Linked DNA regions of Homo sapiens: regions 2, 3 and 4 are each linked to region 1. The links are contacts of gene promoters, found by promoter capture Hi-C in blood cells and fetal thymus (Javierre and others, 2016). All regions are on one chromosome and are shown on one strand. The core of a region is centred on a gene start or on the middle of the fragment in contact, and the rest is flanking DNA. Distances in the headings are between cores, read along the strand shown. Region 1 holds the start of PSMA2 (proteasome 20S subunit alpha 2). Region 2 holds the start of TMED4 (transmembrane p24 trafficking protein 4). Region 3 holds the start of YKT6 (YKT6 vesicular SNARE protein). Region 4 has its middle 210 kb from the start of INHBA.

Region 1 (2,572 bases), core at 53-2,552:
AGGGGGGAGAGGGGAAGCGGGAGGGGAGGTGAGGGCAGGGCTGGAAAGGAAAGACAGATCCAGAGAGTGGTGAGCCTTGATGCCAAGTGAGACCTGCAGAACTGTCCTCTCAGGACAACTCTGTACAAATCCCTGAACTCCACAGACTTGACCAAACTCTAGCATAGTTTCTAGCAGCATAAGGCTGTATCCTAGGATGACCTCGGCCCCCCCTTTAAAGTGCCTGCCTGAGAAAGCTCAACGCTGCCTGGAAAATTTCCTATTTATTTTGGCCAACATACCCCGATAGTAGGTCCCGAACTCCCTTAGAGCATTTCCTGGAAAGGGCATATAATTGTAAATACGTATCCCTTGCAACTAACTCGGAAGCTTTTCTTTCAAGGCCCTGAGAGCCATTCCTTCGAAATCTAATCATTAGGAAGGATAGGGCCTTTGTCTCCCAGTCTCTGCGGGAGGATAGAATTCTCCCTAAGACAACTGCGAGCTAGCAGACACAGCCGGCTAATCACATTTGCACTGACTTCACTATACTACACTTCTCTGACTCTACAGAGCCCCTACACTCCCGCCTCGCTCATTCTCCCTTTAAAACGCCCAAAGTCACCTCTGCACAAACCGGGATGGAGCTCAGCTCTTTACCTGCAGTAGTTACTGAATAAAATCTGTTTTCAGCGCTTTACTTACTGGCTGGCTATGATTTATCTTTGACACAAGCTTGGGTTACATTCTGTGTACGAATGGAACAAGCAGAGGAATTTTTTTTTTTTTTTTTTTGCGGTGGAGGGAGCGCAAAAACAGTCGTTCTGTTCTCGCTAATATGGGAATGTCACGAACTACGTCCCCGACATGAGGCCGCGGATCAGAACCGGGGCTGAGGGCGAACTGTGTAAGCTGCGTCTGCTACGCTGCCCGAGGTCCCGTCATCAGCCCCCTCTCCCACGGAGCCCTTCTTTACCTACCCCACGGAGGACTGGGAAAGCCCGGCCGGCTCTGCGGAAGCTTCCGTAGCAGTCGCTCCCAGTAGTTTCGAAGCACTCCCCGGGCCGCAGACCACGGCGAAACCACCAAGACCAGCATGGCCAGCGCCATTTTCCCTGCTGGAAGACCGCCCCGGTCCCGCCCCTGCTTTCAGCATGCGCACAGGCACAGAATCGGGCAAGCCTCGCTTCTTAGAACTACAACACCCCGCATGCTCTTGGAGCAGCTCTGACTCTCCTCCAATCATAGAGAGTAAAGGAAAGGTGAGGGGCGGGGAAATGAAAGGAAATCGGCCACAGTGCGCATGTGTGCGGCTGTGCTTTGGCTCTTCGGGTAAAGATGGCGGAGCGCGGGTACAGCTTTTCGCTGACTACATTCAGGTATGGAAGGGGCCCTCGAGGTCTTCAGCGTAGTCGAGGTTGCTGGTACTCTGTCGATTTAGTTTTTCCCATCCTGACGTCGGCATTGGTGCTTCTGGAGGGTCCAGTAGGGAATGGAGTTGGAAATGCGGCTTTGCAAAGTCATTTGCCAGGCCGACCCGGGATTCCTGGAGCTTCCTTGGTCGGAGGCTGCTGGAGGGTCGGGGGGATGCGGTTTTGCGGGGTTAACATGGGGCTGCGGGACGGTGAGGCACATAGCCAAGGATTCGCTTTCACTTTGGAGACCAGAAAAGAAGGCAGTTTTAGCTTAACCATCTCTGGGTGGCCCGTTCCGAACTCAGGATTTTTTTCCTGGCTCAAGTAGACCTGATGCGGTGGTTTCTGAAACTTGGAATCTTGGTCAAATATGTGGGGTTCCCTTTTCTTGGAAAACTCTCAGCTTTACAGTTAAGTCGGAGTCTTGGTCTCCATTTGGCACTAGTGTCTTTCAAAACCTCCCGCTTTCGGTTTCTTCGATGCACGAATTAGAAACATAAGGACTAAAAACCGAAAGCCCCTATCACTTTTTTGTGAACCCCTAACAACGAGGCAAGTTTGAGTTTTGGTCTTTTTTTGGTGGACTGGGGGGAACGTCGGGGAGGGGGATGTTTACTTTAAACAAGATTGTAGGTTTTTCTATTGTAGAAAAGGGGATTAGAATAATAAGTTTACTTTCCAAAATACAGTTGGGGCGAACCATGGCTCTCAACGTGAGAAAACCATCGCCGAAGACTTTTAAAAATTGACTGGGGAAGTTTTCTGACTTACCCATTTTCTTAAGGATCAGTAATGCCCAGTTTACTTAAAATGTACTCCTGACAACTGAAGGCAGGCGGGATCTAACTTGTTGAGTACTTTGTTAGGTGCAACTTAACCTTAACCTGCTCCATCTCTTTCCACTGCTATAATGAATGTTATCTCAGCTTCTTACAGATGAACTAACCGCAGCTTGTACAAATTAAACAACTTGTCTAAGGTCATCGGTGAGTAGCTGAGTTGACATTCAAACTGGGTTTTTTTTCTGATAACAAAAATACACTTTCCATTACATAACGTTGTCTTAAATTCCAAAAGTACTTTTCTCTTGGCAGTTTTCAGTAAGCAGTGGGTGTATGTAATAGTTTTTTTGTAACCTTTGAACGAGATTAATTTAATTATGCAATAAAAGGTCTCAT
Region 2 (2,572 bases), core at 50-2,549, 1.7 Mb before region 1:
GGGGATAATTCCTGGACCCCTACGGATACCAAAATCCAGGTATGCTCAAGTTCTTTATGAAAGTTCATTGTAATTATTCTATTATATAAAAGTTTCGAAATTCTGTTGATAAAATGTATTTTTAGTAGAGACGGGGGTTTCACCTTGTTGGCCCAACTGGTCTCGAATTTCTAACCTCAGATGATCCACCAGCCTTGGCCGCCCAAAGTGTTAGCATTACAGGCGTGAGCCACCGCGCCCGCCTGGCCTTGATAAAAACAGTTTTAACCTTCCGTTGCTTCGATTCCATGCCCACTAAGTAACATTCCAGTTTGTTTTTCACTTTCAAAAGGATGTGCTGTAACTAGGGGATGTAAACAAGCTCCATGACCCTACTTATTCCAAGTTTTCGTTCCACTCTCCCACCTTTTTTTTAAGACAAGGTATCACCCTCGGTCGCCCAGGCTGGAGCGCGATCACTGCTTAATGCATCCTCGACCTCCTGGGTTCAAGCGATTCTCCTGCCTCAGCCTCCCAAGTAGCTGGGACTACATGCGCACACCACCACACCGGTTAATTTTTTGTAGAGACGGGGGTTTCACCATGTTGCCCAGGCTGGTCCCGAACTCCTGGGCTCAAGGGATCCGCCCGCCTCAGCCTCCCAGAGTGCTGGGATTACAGGTGCCAGCCACCGCGCCCGGCCCCAGCTTCTTAAAAGAATGATCCGAAACTATGGCAGCACTGGGCTTTTGGTCCCCACCCAAGAAATGCCCGCTCGCAGAGGCTCGCCGCGGCAGGCTCTCCCGACGTGACAGAGTGTGGGTCTGGATTCAGCCTCGGTTCTTACGAGTCAGATAGGTGGACACGCAAAGCAAAACATCACAGGGCTTTTTGTATTTAGCACAGAAAACACTTGTGAGCCCGAGCTGAGAACCCAAAAGGCACGCTTCAGGCCATCGTAGCCACCAAGCCTGGTCAGATTCCGTCCACCGTCTCCTTGGTGCTCCGAGACCCAAATCGCTGACTGGGGCCGAGGGCGGGCGTGACTGCGCAGGCGTGCCTCCCCTGCGAGATGCCGGAGGTAAGCTGCGGGGTAAGGGGCGAGAAATTAAGGGCGAACGTCATTGCGCATGCGCCCTCTACTCTCGTTGCGGGGGTAGGCGGGCGCCGGGCTGTGTGAGGGGGCGGGGCGCGGCAGTGTTCGGTACGGATGGAGTTGCAGGAGACGGCGAGTACATATCACTGCGCAGGCGTCCTCTTCCCCTAACTCTCAGGGTCGCTAGGGTGGCGCGCAGGCGCAGAGCGATGCGCAAATGTGCGCAGGCGCTTAGGGGCTGAGGCGCGATGGCAGGTGTCGGGGCTGGGCCTCTGCGGGCGATGGGGCGGCAGGCCCTGCTGCTTCTCGCGCTGTGCGCCACAGGCGCCCAGGGGCTCTACTTCCACATCGGCGAGACCGAGAAGCGCTGTTTCATCGAGGAAATCCCCGACGAGACCATGGTCATCGGTCAGGCGGGCTGAGGGTGGGGAGGCCCTTTGTACCCAGCTCAGCCCTCGGCGGCGCTCCCTCCTCCCGAGCCCAGCCGGGTCGCTGGCTCCCCCAGTACCTAGCCTGAGGGTGCCCCGAGGACGCCAGGCCCCCTGCCTAGAGCTCCGGGCCGCACGTCGGAGGGGGCCGGGCGGAGAGGCGGCCCACTAGGGCCGGTCGTGACTATGTGTCTGCCCCGCAGGCAACTATCGTACCCAGATGTGGGATAAGCAGAAGGAGGTCTTCCTGCCCTCGACCCCTGGCCTGGGCATGCACGTGGAAGTGAAGGACCCCGACGGCAAGGTAAGGCTGGCGTTGGCCCACGCAGCCGTTCTTCAGTGGAGCTCCCGTGGGGTGTAAAGCACTGCCTGGAGGAGGCCTCAAGGGACAGGAACTTGCACTTGGAGAGCCTGCGGTATAAAGGTGGGGCCTTCACTCACATATGTTGCAGGTGGTGCTGTCCCGGCAGTACGGCTCGGAGGGCCGCTTCACGTTCACCTCCCACACGCCCGGTGACCATCAAATCTGTCTGCACTCCAATTCTACCAGGATGGCTCTCTTCGCTGGTGGCAAACTGGTAAGAGGATTTTCTCTTTGGCTTCAGCTTAGAATCTCTCACTTGTTTCCAAATTTTGATTTATCAAGATTGTGAAACTTTGTAGCACAGTCAGAATTGGGGAGACAGATGTTGCCTTCTGCTCCACAGCCAGGGACAATAGTGGGTTCCATACCCTGGAACAGACAACTGGAGGCCCCACCACTCATACATTCCATGTTTCCTTGTAGCGGGTGCATCTCGACATCCAGGTTGGGGAGCATGCCAACAACTACCCTGAGATTGCTGCAAAAGATAAGCTGACGGAGCTACAGCTCCGCGCCCGCCAGTTGCTTGATCAGGTGGAACAGATTCAGAAGGAGCAGGATTACCAAAGGGCAAGTGCATATCTCCTTGTAATTTGAGAGGGCAGTTGACCTTTATACCCACTATACCTACTCAAGTTTCTGCTTGGGAGATCAGCTCTGCAGAGAATGGAATGAGAAGTATTGGTTTAGATAGGTTGTTTGTTT
Region 3 (2,572 bases), core at 29-2,528, 1.3 Mb before region 1:
AAGAAGCAGAAAGTTTCAACAAAATAACATTTTTTTTTTTTTACATCCAGCAAGTCCTTGGCAAAGAACTCTCATCAAGAACCAGCTGCACTGAAGCAGGGAAAACAGAATCCAAACGGCAGATTCCATCAGATTTTGAGACAAGATGACCATAGATACCGACCATGTAGGGTCCTCCTTCTTTCGTGCCTGAGTCACCCCAATCCCTCCCACGAATGGTCTGGAAGTGTCTGTGTTACTTCTAACACGTTCCAGCAATTAAAGCGCCCCAGAAACAAGTAAAAGCCTGTAAGCCCTACAGATCCCATGCTTCATTTGCATCTTCCGTGTGGAATCCTTTTGTACCACTAGTGTCCAACTAAAAAGCGTTAAACCTGGCTTTCAGTTCTAGCTGGTTGTGATATAACCTCTTGGTACCTCAGTGACTTCACCCATTAAAAACAAACAAAAAAAAGTATATCACTATCTCTCATACAGAATTGTTGGGAAGCCCCGCAAGAAAATCAAAATATGGCTCTCAAGATGCGGCACCCAAGCTCCCAGAGTCAGAATCACTGGGTGGGAAGTGTTGGTCTAAAATATAAATACCGAGGCCTCAATCTACTAATTCAGAACATCTTGGCATGAAGCTTGGAAATCTGCACTACTTCACAGTCTCCTTAAAATTTTTACACGACAGAAATTTGAAAAACACTGAGTAGAGAACTATATTCTAGAATGGTATAAGCTCTTAAAGAGCTAATGTTGGTTCCTCAAAGGTAGAGTCCACGGCCAGATTCCATTATAGGAGACCAAGCCCGGACAGCAGACCCCGGGCCCTCCCCACCCCGCCCCGCCTCTGACTCGGACACCAGCCTTCTCAGACCCCGGGCACTCGGCCACCCCGCCCTGCCCCTACCCTTGGCCTCCTCCACCCTCCCCTCATCCCTCCGCCGACCCCAGGCCCACTCCGACTCGGACCCCCACCCCAGTCCTCTCCGCCCGACCGCCACGGCCCACCAGCCTGTGCCGCTCACCTGGATCTCTGGAAAAAGCTGAAGGAAGACACATCGTATGCGGCTTTGAGCAGCACCACCTTGGCCTCGCCTTTGTAGAGGACGCTGAGGCTGTACAGCTTCATGGCTCCGCGCCCTCAGGCCGCCCGCCTGCCCAGCTGCGGGACCCGTTCTCAGGGAGCAGCGCGGCCGCCGCCCCTCGGGACCGCCGCCGCCTACCGGCCTCTCAGCAGCCGGCTGCTGACGGGGCCACCGCCGGCTTCCTCCTCCTGGCTCGCAATCCACTTCCGGATCCGGTCAGCCTGGTTGAGGGTTCTCATACTCCGGATGCAGAAATGTGAGCCCGGAAGTACAATGCAGCGAGGGGCGGGATGCCACGCCTCGCGTAAGCTTGGCCCCTCCCTGCTCGCCAGGTGGAGTCGGGCGCGCGGCGGGATACCGTACTGTCTTGTGCTGGGTGGTGCTGGGCCTCCCACAGCGGCCTGAACCCTTCTTTTTTTTTTTTTTCTTTTCTTTCTTTTTTTAAAGTAAGCATTTTTTTTATTATTATACTTTAAGTTTTAGGGTACATGTGCACAACGTGCAGGTTTGTTACATATGTATACATGTGCCATGTTGGTGTGCTGCACCCATTAACTCGTCATTTAGCATTAAGTATATCTCCTAATGCTATCCCTCCCCCCTCCCCCCACCCCACAACAGTCCCCGGTGTGTGATGTTCGCCTTCCTGTGTCCATGTGTTCTTATTGTTCAATTCCCACCTATGAGTGAGAACATGCGGTGTTTGGTTTTTTGTCCTTGCAATAGTTTGCTGAGAATGATGGTTTCCAGCTTCATCCATGTCCCTACAAAGGACATGAACTCATCATTTTTTATGGCTGCATAGTATTCCATGGTGTATATGTGCCACATTTTAGGAGGAGCTTGTACCATTCCTTCTGAAACTATTCCAATCAAAAGAAAAAGAGAGAATCCTCCCTAACTCATTTTATGAGGCCAGCATCATCCTGATACCAAAGGGTGGCAGAGAGAGACACAACAAAAAAAGAATTTTAGACCAATATCCTTGATGAACATTGAAGCAAAAATCCTCAGTAAAATACTGGCAAACCGAATCCAGCAACACATCAAAAAGCTTATCCACCATGATCAAGTGGGCTTCATCCCTGGGATGCAAGGCTGGTTCAACATACGAAAATCAGTAAACGTAATCCAGCATATAAACAGAACCAAAGACAAAAACCACATGATTATCTCAATAGATGCAGAAAAGGCCTTTGACAAAATTCAACAACCCTCATGCTAAAAACTCTCAATAAATTAGGTATTGATGGGACGTATCTCAAAATAATAAGAGCTATCTATGACAAACCCACAGCCAATATCATACTGAATGGACAAAAACTGGAAGCATTCCCTTTGAAAACTGGCACAAGACTGGGATGCCCTCTCTCACCACTCCTTTTCAACATAGTGTTGGAAGTTCTGGCCAGGGCAATCAGGTAGGAGAAGGAAATAAAGGGTATTCAATTAAGAAAAGAGGAAGTCAAATTGTCCCTGTTTGCAGATGACATGAT
Region 4 (2,572 bases), core at 52-2,551, 1.0 Mb after region 1:
TGACTTGCCACCTACTTTGCCATCACTTGAGAGGTTGAGTAAGACAGGCCATCAGAGAAGACGTTGAGGTGGAGAATGTGAGACCCACATGCACACAAGCCGGCATGCTCTTCCCTGCCTCCTCTTTCTTTTGTGACCTCTTATGGAATGCTGTGGGAAAGCACTCAAGTCCTGAGGTTCCATTGGCTACGGAAACGAAGAAATTTGAACTAACTCTTGCTAAGAAACTGTAATTAGGACATGGACCCTGACATAATTATCTTTGTGAATTTCATTGTGTTTTTTTTTTTATTTTTTCTAAGTGAAATTGCTTCAGAAAATTGGAGAGCCATCTTACATTCCATGTGGAGAATTTATTAGCTATGAAAATAATTCATGAAGTTATGGGTAGAAACATGTTGTTAACCTTGAAGGAAAATTAAAATCAGAGTAATAAAATCTTCCATTTGCAGAGTGTTCCATCATTCTAAGCCATGGTCGCATCTACTTCCTCTTTGTGGTCCTCACAAGAGCCTTTGAAAGCTGGCAGGGCACCAGTTTGAGCCCCTTTTATATTTATTCACTTATTCATTCATCAACTATTTATTGCATGCCTATTTTTGTGCCAGGCACTGGTGATGCACTGGTGAACCAGTAGGCAGGTGTTTTTTTTTTGTTGTTTTTTGTTTTTTCCCTCCCTGAAGCTTGTATTTTGCCAGGGGTAGCAGACAATAAAACAAAGAGTACATAATAAACAATTAAATGAGGAAAAAGTAACTGAAGAGTCCTAAGTGCTATTCAGATAATTCAAATAGGTGGCTGTGGGATGGACAGCTAGTTTAGATGACATGACCATCAAAGGCAGCTCTGAGCAGAGGACATTTTAACCTGAGACCTGAATGACATGAGCTATCTCTGCACAGACTGCAGAAAAATATTCTTCATAGATAAGAAAATTGAGACCCAAATAGATTCAGTGACTCAAAGACCATACAGATGGTTAGGCCATGATGGACTTGAACTTCAACCTTAAGTTTCTGAGTCCAAGACCAGTGGCATTTCTATTCACTATTTACTTCACTAGTAGATATGGAAGAATATATAAATAATGCTCAGCATTGCTTTCGCACACTGGGAGAGCTAGGTTAGGTTTTATCAATGGTAATTTTGATAATTTAGTACTCACATGTTGATTTTTCAATTATTTCTAAATGAATAAGAAAATTGTAGTTTGAACTTTTAAAACATATGTAGAGCTAATCTTGTAACAGTGAGAGAAATCTAATACAGCTGACTCCTTCTTGCATGTGACCTCACAAGCTAACTGCCATTGCCCGTTTTTGCACGTAGGCCAAGCTAACTATGGGAGGAATTTAGTTTCCAGTTTAACTTTATTTTTAATTTTTATTTATTTATTTATTTATTTATTTATTTTTTTGAGACAGGGTCTCACTCTGTCTCCCAGGCCGGAGTGTAGTGGCACAAACATGACTCCCAGATTCAAATGATCCTCCCACCCCAGCCTCCCAAGTAGCTGGGATTACAGGCACACACCACCATGCCTGGCTAATTGTTTAACTTTTTCTGTAGAGACAGGGTCTCTCTTTGTTGCCTAGGCTAGTCTCAAAATTCTGGGCTCAAGCCATCCTCCTGCCTCGGCCTCCCAAATTGCTGGGATTACAAGCCTGAACAAACACATCCAGCCTATAGTTTAATTTTAAAGCAAAGATGATAACAGTGCCTGCCCCAAAGTAACCCTCGAGGAGATAAGGAGGACATATGCACAAGTAACAATGTTATGTTGAAGATTTATAGGAGCATTGTGACCTGACCAAGGACAAAGAAGTTTTGCATCCTCCTTGGACTTCTGCTGATGCTCAGATGTCTGTGGTCACCAGCCACCTCCTTCTTCCCTCTTCCCCAGTATAAAAAGAAGCTTGAGATTCATGCATTCTAAGATAGTTATTTAGGACGCTGTTCTGCTGGCTCTCTCTGAAGTAAAGTCGTCTTCCAACACCTTGTCTTTCAATGTGTTGGCTGTCGTGTGGTGAGCAGTGTGAGCTTTGGACTCCACTACAATCTCAACTCCTGCATGGATGATTTCTAGTCAAAATGGATGACATTCTGGTCAAAAAGAATTAATACCAAGATAATTGCAACAATTTTGTTCTCTCTCTTGCTTTCTGTGCCTTCCTTTCTCTCCCTCCCTCATGTATCTGAGTATCTTTCCTTTCTAAGCAGTACAGTAACACTGCGAAACAGGCTTAATTGCTGTTAGGAATTTCTTAGGAAGTGCTAGGATTTATCATTTCTAGCTGCCTCTCCACTAGTAGCATGCTGGATAATTCAAAGTATTTGGAATTCTCTTTTTTGCAAATATTTTAACAGGATTACAAAGGAAGCCCTTTTGGTGGAATAATGTCATTATTATAGCTTGAAAAAATACCTTAGAGTTCATGGCCATGGTTGATTAAGGAGTCTTGTAAGAGAAGTGTTGACAAAAATACTTTCCAGAATGAATTAAATAAAACCCATGAAGGAATGTGTACATATATCTATATCTATATCTATATCTATATCTATATCTATATCT

The links. The method cuts DNA at HindIII sites, captures the fragments that hold promoters and counts their contacts. A CHiCAGO score of 5 or more calls a contact.
Region 2: the fragment with the promoter of TMED4 here is called in contact with the fragment with the promoter of PSMA2 in region 1 in 1 of 17 cell types (fetal thymus); the score reaches 5.8 in fetal thymus.
Region 3: the fragment with the promoter of YKT6 here is called in contact with the fragment with the promoter of PSMA2 in region 1 in 1 of 17 cell types (fetal thymus); the score reaches 6.5 in fetal thymus.
Region 4: a contact is called between a fragment that was not itself captured here and the fragment with the promoter of PSMA2 in region 1, in 1 of 17 cell types (M2 macrophages). The highest score is 6.2, in M2 macrophages.

What each region holds. Positions count from the first base shown.
Region 1 is chr7:42,930,904-42,933,475 of GRCh38, reverse strand. PSMA2 (proteasome 20S subunit alpha 2) reads left to right here and starts at 1,302. Exons shown (of 8, transcript NM_002787.5): 1 at 1,302-1,358. The coding sequence starts at 1,318. It overlaps MRPL32 (mitochondrial ribosomal protein L32), which reads right to left and starts at 1,100. Exons shown (of 3, transcript NM_031903.3): 1 at 960-1,100. The coding sequence starts at 1,089. RefSeq lists an enhancer at 922-1,151. The HindIII fragment of the contact is 5,414 bases long and covers 1,002-2,572 here.
Region 2 is chr7:44,580,958-44,583,529 of GRCh38, reverse strand. It overlaps TMED4 (transmembrane p24 trafficking protein 4), which reads left to right and starts at 1,299. Exons shown (of 5, transcript NM_182547.4): 1 at 1,299-1,483; 2 at 1,707-1,807; 3 at 1,956-2,081; 4 at 2,291-2,437. The coding sequence starts at 1,324. RefSeq lists an enhancer at 816-925 and silencers at 1,016-1,175, 1,576-1,675. The HindIII fragment of the contact is 9,471 bases long and covers 1-2,572 here.
Region 3 is chr7:44,199,684-44,202,255 of GRCh38, reverse strand. It overlaps YKT6 (YKT6 vesicular SNARE protein), which reads right to left and starts at 1,278. Exons shown (of 7, transcript NM_006555.4): 1 at 1,017-1,278. The coding sequence starts at 1,120. RefSeq lists a silencer at 1,102-1,171. The HindIII fragment of the contact is 756 bases long and covers 632-1,387 here.
Region 4 is chr7:41,914,048-41,916,619 of GRCh38, reverse strand. No RefSeq gene overlaps it. Among named protein-coding and RNA genes, the nearest start is that of INHBA, 210 kb to the right of the region's middle. The HindIII fragment of the contact is 1,232 bases long and covers 686-1,917 here.